Linked DNA regions of Homo sapiens: region 1 is linked to region 2. Evidence: promoter capture Hi-C in 16 types of primary human blood cells and fetal thymus (Javierre and others, 2016). All regions are on one chromosome and are shown on one strand. Each heading gives the region's core, a stretch centred on a gene start or on the middle of the fragment in contact. The rest is flanking DNA. Distances are from core to core; before and after follow the strand shown.

Region 1 (6,021 bases), core at 1,486-3,985, 520 kb before region 2:
AAGATCAATTGATCTGATGGCCACCGGAGAAGCCCTGCTGAAACAATTCGGCAAATCTGCCCAGAGACGGCTCTGCCAGTCTCTGGAGACAGAACTCTTAAAGAGGCAGGAAAGACCAGAGGGAGGTTTTGCAGTTATTCACGCCATGCTATTCTAAAAGTGAGGAGGGCTTGGCTGTAATTTCCCACTCTGGACATTGAATGATTCAATGTATCTGTTTATATTTACATGGCTGAGGCATAAAACAACAAAACAAAAAGCCCACTCCCACCTCATTAAGCCCACCTAGGTAACACTGTGGCAGGACGCACACAAACCAATCAGGCGGTTTTTAAAAACCCTCAAAATCTAAGGTCCCTCAACCGCTTGTTGCACTCAATACATGCCCCTGTCTACAGTGGCTCATCCTAGAATCACTACTACAGAGAAGGACTATGTTTAGGCAGAAATCTTGCTGCCCTCAACGCCAGACCTAAGAATCACTGCAATAATAGGATGCTCAAACCACCAAGCTATTGGCAGCCTGTAAGAGAAACACCCTATAAAACAGCAAGCAGGCAGCAACCATCACCCACCCTCCAGGGATGTTCCTGAACCCAGTGCTCAACCACACAAGTCCAATCTAGGTGGCCTCGCAATGTCCTCCCACCCGCTCCAGGAGAGACAAGGTCAAGACCATAAAATGACTTCAGGAGCCATAAAAGCAGAAGCAGCACCTTCTGAAATCAAGCAATCAAGAATTAAACAAGTAGGCTAGGCTCAGTGGCTCACGCCTGTAATCTCAGCACTTTGGGAGGCTGAGGCAGGTGGACTGCCTGAGCCCAGGAGTTCGAGACCAGCCTGGGCAATATGGAGAAACGCCGTCTCTACAAAAAATGCAAAAATTAGCTGGGCGTGGTGGTACGTGCCTGTGGTCCCAGCTAGTCAGATGGCTGAGGCAGGAGAATCATTTGAGCCCAGGAGGTCAAGGCTGCAATGAGCTGTGATCACTCCAGCCTGGGTGACAGGGCGAGGCCCTGTTTAAAAAAAAGGTGGGGAGGAGTGGGGCTGGGTATGGTGGCTTATGCCTGTAATCCCAACACTTTGGGAGGGTGAGGTGGGTGGATCTCTTGGGCCCAGGAGTTTGAGACCAGCCTGGGCAATAGAGCGAAACCCTGTCTCTACTAAAAATACAAAAATTAGCTGGGCATAGTGGTGCACACCTGTAGTCCCAGCTACTCGGAAGGCTGAGGTGGGAGGATCACCTGAGCCCAGGGACATCAAGGCTGCAGTGAGCTGTGATCACACCACTGCACTCCAGCCTGGGCAACAAACCTTGTCTCAAAAACAAAAATAGAAAGAAAGAAAAAAAAAGAAAACAAAACCCCTTGAAAAGGCTGACCCACACCCTGGAGTTAACTCCGGAAGGCGAGTGAGGGACCGCTAGAAGCAAGGCGTGGAGCCGCCTCTGCAGCAAGGACAGAGAGCACTTGTGTTAAACGAGGGCTTTCCAGGGCTGTGGGACCTGTTGGATGCACCCAGGTTACCTGTGACTTGCAGATTTAGAAAAGGAGTCCACAGTGAGGAAGGGACTGTGCTGAACTACTCCAGCCCTGAAAACGCCCCCTTTCCCTATCAGGTTTCTGGCTTCAGCTCTAGGAGGAAAATAACGCAGTGCCACAGGGCTCTCCCTCTGAGTGCACTGTGCACGCCCCGAGCTGGCCACTGATCTGGTTGTGCCGGTGGGCAGCCCTTCACCTAAAGTCCACCTCGTGGCTCTCAGCCACGCAGCGCCACTGTCTTTTCAGATTTGAAGCTTTAAAGCGGGATGGGGAAGAGTGTGGGCAAGTGGGAGGCATGTGTCCAGTGGGGCTGGACACACACACAGGTATGTAAGAGGGCTGCACCTGTATGTAATAATACAGTGACTATCCTCGAGGTTGCTGAGTGATCATAGTTTAGGAAACTAACTAAACAGGGACAGTGTCTGGGGACAGAGCGTTTGCCCTGAAGGTGTGGACGTGTGCTAGGAGCATCTACCACTGCCAACCTCCAACAAGCAATCATGCTTAGAAATAGCAGCTAAAGACGAGCTCTCTTCATGAAGCCTGCAATGCCTTCCAGGCTGGGAGCCAGAGGTGACCCACAGGCAGAGCTGAGGCCCTCACTCAGGAGACAGAAGCTCTCCTTCAACGGGAAGAGGGCAACAGGGCAGGAAGGAGGGACTCTTGGAGGAGGAAGGCAGCTTCTCTCAACAGTGACTGTTTAGCCTCAACCACTGCAGGGGAATGTGGCCACACCACTAGCCAGCCACTGTTCGCAGAATCGAAGAGTAGGCCAGGAGTGGCCCTGGCCTGAGATTATTTTACAACAGAGAAGAAAAGAAAAGCCCCCGCGGGACCAGGAAAGGAGAACCAGTGGCCAAGCCAGGCACACGGCAGAGCAGGCCATGCTTTCAAGGGAGAGGCGACACCAGTCTCAGCCCACAGCAGTCCCGTGGCAGGGGCTCTAGGAATGTTGGCCAAGAGTCAAGGACAGCAAAGTGAATATAGGCAAACCCACACCTTAACCCCAAAGTAGGCGGCTTTCAGCTAGAAGGTTTGAACACAATGAATGTTGAATAAAATGAAGTCTTTATAATTCACGGTCGATCTTGGAAACTAGAAAATGCCAGAGGAAAGGGTTTCAGTTCATCAGTCCAGGGACAACATCTTGGAAGGAACACAAAGGTAATTCCTCCAAATTGAGGATGCTGTCAAATCAGAGAGCATTCTTTTGAGAATCATGGTCTGAAATCTCCCCCAGCTTGGCACTGCCCACCCCTCATCCCCAACATCTCACCAGCTGGCCAGATATGCAGACACTGCCTCCTGTTTCTCTAACTCTGGCCCCTCCTTCCCAATTCACCCTGCCACAGCTGAAGGCCTGCTTCCCTTCTCACCTGGGCTCTAGTGGCCCACCTGCCTCCTGTCTGTCCCCTGCCACGACTCCCACACAGTGCGGCCAGCGGGACAGACACCGAGATCTGACAGTGCAGGCGGTAGCCAGCTCTGGACTGCAGCATACAGGACCCTGCGTGGTTCTTACCTAACCTCCTCACAGGTCACGTTTCCAGCATAACGCCTCCCCGCCAACACGTGGGGCCGCTCTGAGGTGCGTGCAGCCCCTGGCATGCCATTTCACTTACATGCACGACACCCACCCTATGCCCTCTCTCCTTCCCACCCCTCCCCCTGCAACCTGGGCCATCCCTCCAGGTTAGTCCCAATGCCGTTTCATTAATGCATCTTACTATACTAATTTGTTTCCTTTTCCTAAATGCCCCAGCTCCCTGAGAGCCGAGTTTGCTCCTTTCTCATCTAATACTGAGTGTGCAGTGTATGGTTGGTATAAGGTGGCTGAGTTGTAAATGAACACAGGAGTGCTTCCCAAGCAGGCTTTTCTGAGCCCACACCTGCTTCACTCCAACCGGGTCAGGAAGGGAGGCAGGCAGTGGCCTCCGATCAACACCTCCAGAGGAAATGAAAATACTGTCCATATTAAGGAAATAACCAGAAATGTGATTTAGCTATTAACAAAAAAACAAAACTGAAAGAGGAAGAGGGGTGACCAGGCACACATAAGACATGAATAGCTGCGAACAAGTTCTCAGACCTGGTGCGGGAGAGAAGGCGCGGGACTCCTCCCAAAGCTTCCTCCTCCAGGGCTCCCTAACGAGATACATGAAAAGGGAGGGGAAAAATAACTACAGTCTTTTAGCTTATCAATTTCTCACATCCAACTCCAAACAGCAGAAATACAAAGACTGTCTTTTTCACTCCTAACCCAGGAGGAAGAAGGAAAAGTGCTTATTTTTAGCCAAGCCAAAAAACATAAGCAGCTACAGATTAATAAGAAGCAGAGAGAAAAAAGAACCCTCACAAGAAAGCAGAACCTCAAGGAACACCAGAAGCAGGTCCACTACAGCCCAAAGCAGCCTGGACAAGGAGTGGACCAACGTCTTCTCTCTTAATCACAGGATAATAAAAATGCAAGCGGCGAGCATCTTTGAAAGGCACACTTCCCAGAGGGGCTGGGCAGGCAGGCAAGCAAGCCGAAATGCTACCTCTCATTTCTTTACAATTAAGTAATTACAGGGACCTTGTTTCAAACATGGTATTTCCAAGTCCAGATGGAACCACTGCCACCAAGAAGACAGGTGACGTTCTGGGCCTGCCTGACGTCTGGGCTTGCCTGACGTCCTGCTGTGCTGCATCAGGCACCACACGGGGCAAGGCCCCCATTGGCACTATGCCAAGGTGGGTGGCTTTCAACCAACTAGCTGTGGATAAGAATCTCAAAAGGCAAAAGAAAACCGTGTAAATGTCTAAGCCCCGACCTCAGCGGAGGAATCCCCAGAGAACCACCAAGTTGGCTGCATTCTCTAAAAGTCTGTATTTATTACAACCATCCCTACAGTATGTGATAACAACAAAAACAGAGGGAAATGGGGGACTGGCTTCAAACACCAGACACCTAAAAGGGTTCCTTTGGGGGAGCTTCCCTTGGGGGAAGACAGGATTTCCAGGACAAACCCCCTCAGAAGGCCCAGGCCCGACTGCCAGAGTCTGAGGCCTGGCCAGGAAACCCCACAAACTTAGGGGTCAGGGGAGCTGACAGTGCAGATTTCTGAGACGCTCACTGAGAAATTCAGATTCGGCCAGTCTGCACTGGAACCTGCCTGCTAACAAGCAACACAGGGGGCGATCTGAGAATGGGGTTGGGGAGGGGGTGCCAAGGACAGTCTTGGTACTGAGGCAGGAGGGGCCCACAGGCACATGGGTCGCTCTAAGTGTAACGGGATGAGTGAGAGCCTGCAGATGCTGCAGCAGAAAACAGATGACGCAGCTCTGGAGTGGCCATCGGGAGACCCTTGGGATGCTCCGCCGGGCCTCTCACCTTGCTTGGTTTGTAGGTTACCAAGCAAGAGAGGAGCCTGACATCACTACACATCTCACCTCAAGGCCTGCGGGGAGATCACTGAAGGCTGCCAAAGATAAACTCATCCTTCCCACAAGAAGCTTAGAAGCCACTGTATCAGCAACACCATAACCTCTGCCCCAAATCAACCACCTACTCCCAGGCTTTTTAATACTTTATAGTTGCTCTTCAAATCCCTTAGTCTTTAATTAATCCTCACCCCACATAAGAACACTGGCACAAGGTTAGTGGTACTTACTTTGAAGTAAGCATCACAAGAAGAAAAATAACATCCGAGATTTGCTTTAAAACACACCACTACCACCCCTAACTCCCCACCACACACACACAGGCATAAACAGGAAAAGACAAAATAAGCATGGCGAAATCCTGGTGGGTGCTTGGTACCTAAGAGTATACAGCGTCTATTGTTGCAGATGTTGGCACAATAAAACTTTCTTAAGGAAAAAATACTGAAGTCGACATAATTATTACAACCATAATCCTACTTCCAGTAGCGAGGAACACAAACCGCCCTTCACATGCAGGCACCGGCTACTCTGAGCTTTTATCATTTGGTGCTGCGGGTGACGCTGGCTCTGTGATCCTCTGGTTATAGAGAAGCCGAGTGTAGTAGTCTTTCTTGGTTTCAGGCACAAAACAGGACAAATGTTCTGGATACTAACTACTGTCTCCATGTAATTATTAACATTTCCCCTTTCATTCTCAAAAGCACTCAGGTCTGGACACTAAATAGCATGGTCACTCTAGATACAGGGAGAGGGTTGTGAAATAACAGTGTCAACTCTTTGACATGTGGCCCAGAAGGCAGCACGGAGACGTCTCCTACCCCAACCTGCTCTGCCTCCCGATCCAGGTGTGGCCAGGAGGATCTGCATCAAGCCACCTCCCACGACACAGCTGTCAAGCACTCGCAGGTGCTGCTTTTGTAAGTGGAATATGTTCTGGCAAATATAGGAGGTATCGTTCTGAATGTCCTAAGATGTGTCACCTCCATTTAAAAGAGTGCTATTTTGAAAGTGATTAGAATTTAAAAGTTAGCAATTAAAGCCTAATTACAAA
Region 2 (5,910 bases), core at 1,246-3,745:
AACAAAGCACCACCAACCAACAGTTTAAGAAACATCACTTTGGATTTATAAGCAAATGCAGCTATCAATGGACTTTCAGAACCTAACTTCTGTAACTTAATTCCCAATGTGTTCATTAATGCATATACTTAGTTTGTAATATAATGTCTCCAAACAAAAGAAATGCTAAATTCGGTGGGTTCATTTATTTTAAAGAGACAAGGTCTTGCTCTATCGCCCAGGCTGGGAGTGAAAGTGGCACAATCATAGCTCATTGCAGCCTCAAACTCCTGGGCTCAAGGGATCCTCCCACCTCAGCCTCCCAAGTAGTAAGGACTACAGGCACATGCCACCATGTCTGACTAATTTATATACATATATAATATGTATATGTATAATATATATACATATATAATATGTATATGTATAATATATATACATATATATTATATATATTATATACATATATACTATACATATACTATATATATTATATATATATTATATATGTATATATACATATATATACATATATAATATATATAATTTTTTTAAGAGATGGGATCTCATTATGTTGTCCAGTCTGGTCTAGAACTCCTGGCCTCAAGCGATCCCCCGCTTTGGCCTCCCAAAATAGAGATGACAGGCATGAGCCACTGTCCCCGACCTAAATGAGGTTTTTTAACAGAAAAAAAAAATGTATTAATGAAGTACCTGACTCATTACTTTTTTCATTGACATTACATTTAACTTCCAACAAAGTTCCCTCCCCAACTTTTTCTCTATTTTTTTATTTTAACCAATTGTCAATATCCAAATTATAAAAGTGATAATTATCTTGACAGACTGTAAAAATATGAGTTTCACATTAAACTTACTTGTTCTTTATTTGGAAGAAAGCACTGGTGAGAAATCCAAGCAAAGTGAGCTAGTTTTAGTTTATCTTCCCAGGAAGTTGTCTTGCTTTTAAGCTTAAGGGAAATGCCAGAATAAACAGCAGCCATGGCTAGGCTTTATCTAAAATTTAAAAACAATGGGAAAAAAAATACTATAACAATGTCAGACTGAGCAGGCACCAGAAAACCAACAGTATTGCAGTACTGTATCTTGTTTACCTAATATGTATTCTTTTAAAAGTTTTTAATGAATCAACAGATTTGTCGGGGTAAATCTACATACAAGATGCTTGACTCCAGAATTTTCTGGGGGAAATTCAGACAAAAGCAAGCAAAAGATGGACTGCACACACAGAAGATGGACTATATGTATTCCAGCTATGATCAAACATCACTTCCACAAAGGTGAGTGTTCAGGAATTCAACAAGGCCAAAATCAGTGATTACATTACTTGTGGAAAGAGTCATTCATACATGGTTTCAAATTGAAAGAGGAAAAGATACATAAGCAATATCCGGAGAAAGTAATATGTCTCCAAGTGAAAAAGAAAACCCCAAAGGAATACAGTTATTTCAGCTGCAACAGTAACCTTCCACTAACACTTTTATTCAGTCGTGTATAAATTTACAACGCACATACACTTCAAAAAAGACTCTACAAGAGATACTTGCACAAGGAAAAGACTAAAAATAGAAAACAAAAAACCATGAAATCTCGGGGGTAGCAAACATACCAAACACCTACAGTTACTATTAAACTGGGTAAACTTGGCTTTGAGTTTCCTAAAAGTTATAGTAAAAAGGAACGTTAAGACGTTTTCATTTTAGAAATTAAGTTATCCTTCACTCTACTGCAGAGAACAAGAACGTCAAGTGCTGTCAGTTTTCCTATTTTGTCAAAATGTCCAAAACGAATTCAACGATGCCTGACTTTCTAAGTTCAATACCATAGAACCGCCATCGCGACAGCTACAAAGTGCATAACAGGTGTTTGCTGAACTGGCTACAAAGACAACCGAGATGCTCTCCCCGGCTCCGCCAGAGTTCGGCTCTCCGGGCCTCCAACCGCCCTTACCGGGCAATGCGAAGTCCAGGGCGGACAGCACAGCCCTGCCAGCACTCCCTGCCCAGCAGAAAGAGACCAAGCAACAAGAACCAGGGGAGAGCAGCTAGGAGCCAGGAGGGAGTTCGCCTTCGCGAATGGAGCGTGCCGAAGCCGCTCCAGCCCAGAGTCTGCTGGCGGCACCGGAACTGGGCAGGGTTGGGGGGCCCCCCATCTGGGCCCGGCCTTAGGTAGGGGGATCTCCTCTGGACCAGCCCCGGGTGGGGGGACTCACCTCGGGACCTGGCTGCCCGCAGGGGCTGACCGCAGGTGGGGGACTCACCTCGGGATCCGGCCCGGTAGGGGGCTCAGCTCGAGACAGCTCCGGGTAGACAGGGGAGGACGGCGGCAGCGGCGGCGGCTGCTGTCCCGGTGCGGCGGAGGCCGCTGTACGGGTCCCGCGTCCCCACCACGTGGGACCGGTACCCGCGCTCCTTCCGCCGGACGCCGGCGGCGCAGCGGGGAGGGGCTGCACGCACGCCAGGCGTCGCCAGCCGAGCGCCGAGGCGCCTCGCCCATTGGCGGAGACGGTTGCGCGTTGGAGGCCCGAGCGGCCCAGCCCGCGGCCCGCTCCGTGTCAGTCAGTCATGGAGCGGCCGCCCAGAGCGGCGGCGGGGGCGGCGGGGCGCGGGGCGCGGGGGCCCAGCTGAGCCGGCCGTCGGAGTGAGACCCTGCGGCAGAGACGACGGAGGCGGAAGCAACCCGATCCCGGAGGCGGCGGCGGCGGGGGGAGCCGGAGCCGCCTGGGATGTTCAGTGAGTGCCGGGAGCACGGGCGGGGAGGGCCGGGAGGGTCGCGAGGCGCGCGCGCGCGCGGGCGGGCGGGGGCCGGGGCGGTGGGGCCTCGGCGGGGCGCGCCTTGGCTCCCGCCGGCGGGCGGTGGGGGTGGGGCGCGGGAGGCGGGGCTGGGGGGCGGCGGGCGGCTCTGCGCGGGCGCGACGGCCGCGCCTCCGCCCTCGGCCTCCCGAGTCCCGGGCTGCGGCCGGCGGCGTGGCCTGCAGTCGGCGGCTACACCTGGACTGGCGTCGCGTTCCTGCGCAGGGGTGGGTCCTGCGGGTTGGATGCCGGGCTCGGGGAGGAGGTGGCGGGCGCCCGCGGGGAAGGTATCCCAGTGCCCGACAGCCAAGCAGGGAGCACGGCTCCACAGCTCCTTTGCATGTAGGGGAAAAGGAAATGTCTTTGCGGCGAAGTCGGGATTCAACTTTGCACATGGTGATCGTGCGTGGGTGGGTGTGGAGTCGATCTCCGCGTGTGACACGGGGGAGCCAGAGTTAGACTAGCTGCTGCAGGAGAGTGCTTACCTGCAAGGGTGTCTCTCGGGGCTCGTTGCCTCATGACAGCAAGGTAAGGTTGGTGCGCCCATGGTGTGGGACGGGTTCACCACCTCCAGCTCGCGAAGCTGCCAGGCTTTTGAAAATGTATTCGATAAGGCGTTGGTCCGAAGTGAGTGGATGGTTAGAAACAGTGGTGTCATTTTAGACTTAGCGGAAGTGGAGTGCAGGAACGCTACATGCAGTTCTCCCATCAGTTGTGAAAGTCGTTGTAATGCGGATCTCGCAGTCTTTGTGGTTCTGGGATCAGAAGGTAAGTGCCAGTCCCATGCAGTGTCTGTCTTAAATTACTGTACCTAAACTGACCTTGCAGATTGGAATCTCGGAATGGTGACTCCTGCTAACAAGCAGTTGGGAGCTGTGCTGAGAGGAACATTAAGTGCGGAGCGTGTCTTATATCAGGCGATTCAAGTGTGCCAACACCTGAGTTGGGGATGTAGGGGAGGACACGGAGGCTGTGCCCCAGTTCCTGGTCACAGCTCTACTTGGAAGGGGGAGTAGGAAAGGGAGTTTTGTGCTTAATAGGTTAAATGCATCTGGCCACATCTTTAAACTTTGGAACAGCATAATGTAGTGGATAGAGCTTGGTGACAGTAGACCTAGGATGGAAACCATGTAGCCATCTGCATAACCTCTCTGAACTGTAGTTTCCTCATCTATAAAATGCGATGATAAGGAATAACTTAAACGTGGATTTTTTTTTATCTTTAAGAGACAGGGTGCCTCTATGTTGCCCAGGCCTGGGCTCAAGCAGTCCTCCCGCCTCAGCCTCCCAAAAAACGACCTTTTTAAAGGTACCCAGAAAAAGAATGATGTGTATGAAAATAGCTAAATGTTAGCTATTATCGTTTCCTTTTTGGCAAAATACCTTCTAGGTTCCCTGTAGTCCTAAGTTTTTGCGTTAAATGGAATATATGCTAATTTTTTAATGAATCGTAAATTCTTCCTGCCTTAAAAATCAGCGCTAAGCTAGAAAATTAAAAGGTGGGCTTGTTTTGAGTATTTTTCTTTGTCATCAACAACAAATTAAATTAGTGTATCTTGGAATAGTTTTGTTGCTCCTGCCTGTAAATGTGAGGCTTATGTGAGCTTCTGTCACTGTGAAACTAGGTAAAGGCCTCACTTAACTACTCAGTAACTGGTTTTTGGTTTTGCAAGCAATATATTAGCACCTGTGAAGGACATCTCTGGGGAAAGAAAGGGGGTTTTGTTTCTGCTAATTTGTTTTGCTGGAAGGGAGCTCTAGGGGTCATCTGTTAAACCAGTATTACTCAGTGGACAGTACTAGAAGTCACGTTTCCAGCCTGTCTTGTATGTGACTGGTGGCTTCTCAGGTAGTAAGTGTTCTGATCATTCTCTCAGCAAGCTTCTAGTAAGCATTCATTGTTGTGCTCCCTCAGGAAGCCCCTGGTCACATGTAGAATCCTTTGAGCAGCAAGATGCTGTAGAAGGTGAGAGCTCAGACCCTTCAGCCAGGTGTCCTGAGTTCCCATCCTGGCACTGTGTAACTTCTTTGCGCCTCAGCTTTCCCATCTGAAGAACGTTACCTACCTCATAGGTTTGTTGTGAGCTTAAAGAAGGCAGTCTATGTAAAGCACTTAATTTTAAATGCTTTAAGTGTCTTAGCGTCGAGTATGCTCAGTGTTAAGTATTCGTAGTGGTAGTGTATGAAACAGACAAGAATAGGGTAAGTTCTGTGACAGATTTGTTCCTGGGTTCGTGTGTGGAAGGGATTGTGATCAAGGAAGCTTTTGGGAGGAAGACATGGCTAAGCTGAGCTGCGAAGTGCGGGTGGGATTTAGCCAAACCAGGTTGTAGTGCCAGTGTGGCAGTGCCTCCAACTACTGGAGGGCCCCTGAGGGGAGAAGGTGGAGTGGGACCCACCAGTAGAGTAAGAAGAACCAAGGATTGGTCCAGTGAGGTAAACAGGCAGATTAGAGCAACCTGGAAATGACACAGTAGACACTCAATTTTTCTATCCTTCACACTAGTGGAGGCAGTAGAAAGTATTTTGTTTTGTTTTGTTTTGTTTTTGGAGACGGAGTTCCACTCTTGTTGCCCAGGCTGGAGTGCAATGGCGTGATCTTGGCTCACTGCAACCTCCGCCTTCCGGGTTCAAGCGATTCTCCTGCCTCAGCCTCCCCAGTACCTGGGACTACAGGCATGCACCACCATGCCTGGCTAATTTTTGTATTAGTGGAGATGGGATTTCACCATGTTGACCAGGCTGGTCTTGAACTCCTGACCTCGGGTGATCCACCCACCTCAGCCTCCCAAAGTGCTGAGATTACAGGCCCGAGCCACCGTGCCCGGCGGCAGTAAATGTTTTTAAGCTTAGCAGAGATAACATCAGATTAGCTCCTTGGAAAGATTGTGCCTATAGTAGTATAGTATTATGTTTAAAGTAGGGCCAGGTGTGGTGGCTCATGCCGATAATCCCAGCACTTTCGGAGGATCACTTGAGCACAGGAGTTTGAGATCAACCTGGGCAGCGTAGTGAGACTCCGTCTCTACAAAAAAAAATTTTTTTTTTAACTAACCAGGTGTGATGGTGGGCATGCCTGTAGCCCCAGCTGCTGAGGAGGCTGACTCAGGAAGATCTT

What was found. Contacts are between HindIII fragments. The CHiCAGO score rates a contact against its expected background, and 5 or more counts as called.
Region 1: a fragment that was not itself captured here is called in contact with the fragment with the promoter of TAF5L in region 2 in 1 of 17 cell types (total B cells); the score reaches 5.8 in total B cells.

Annotation. Positions count from the first base shown.
Region 1 is chr1:230,143,911-230,149,931 of GRCh38, reverse strand. The region is part of intron 1 of GALNT2 (polypeptide N-acetylgalactosaminyltransferase 2); the gene reads right to left. Among named protein-coding and RNA genes, the nearest start is that of GALNT2, 80 kb to the right of the region's middle. The HindIII fragment of the contact is 1,875 bases long and covers 1,798-3,672 here.
Region 2 is chr1:229,622,707-229,628,616 of GRCh38, reverse strand. It overlaps TAF5L (TATA-box binding protein associated factor 5 like), which reads left to right and starts at 2,495. Exons shown (of 5, transcript NM_014409.4): 1 at 2,495-2,732. It overlaps URB2 (URB2 ribosome biogenesis homolog), which reads right to left and starts at 2,370. Exons shown (of 10, transcript NM_014777.4): 1 at 2,261-2,370; 2 at 858-996. The coding sequence starts at 983. RefSeq lists enhancers at 1,797-1,876, 3,537-3,586, 4,431-4,981 and silencers at 2,067-2,766, 2,857-3,046. The HindIII fragment of the contact is 3,723 bases long and covers 953-4,675 here.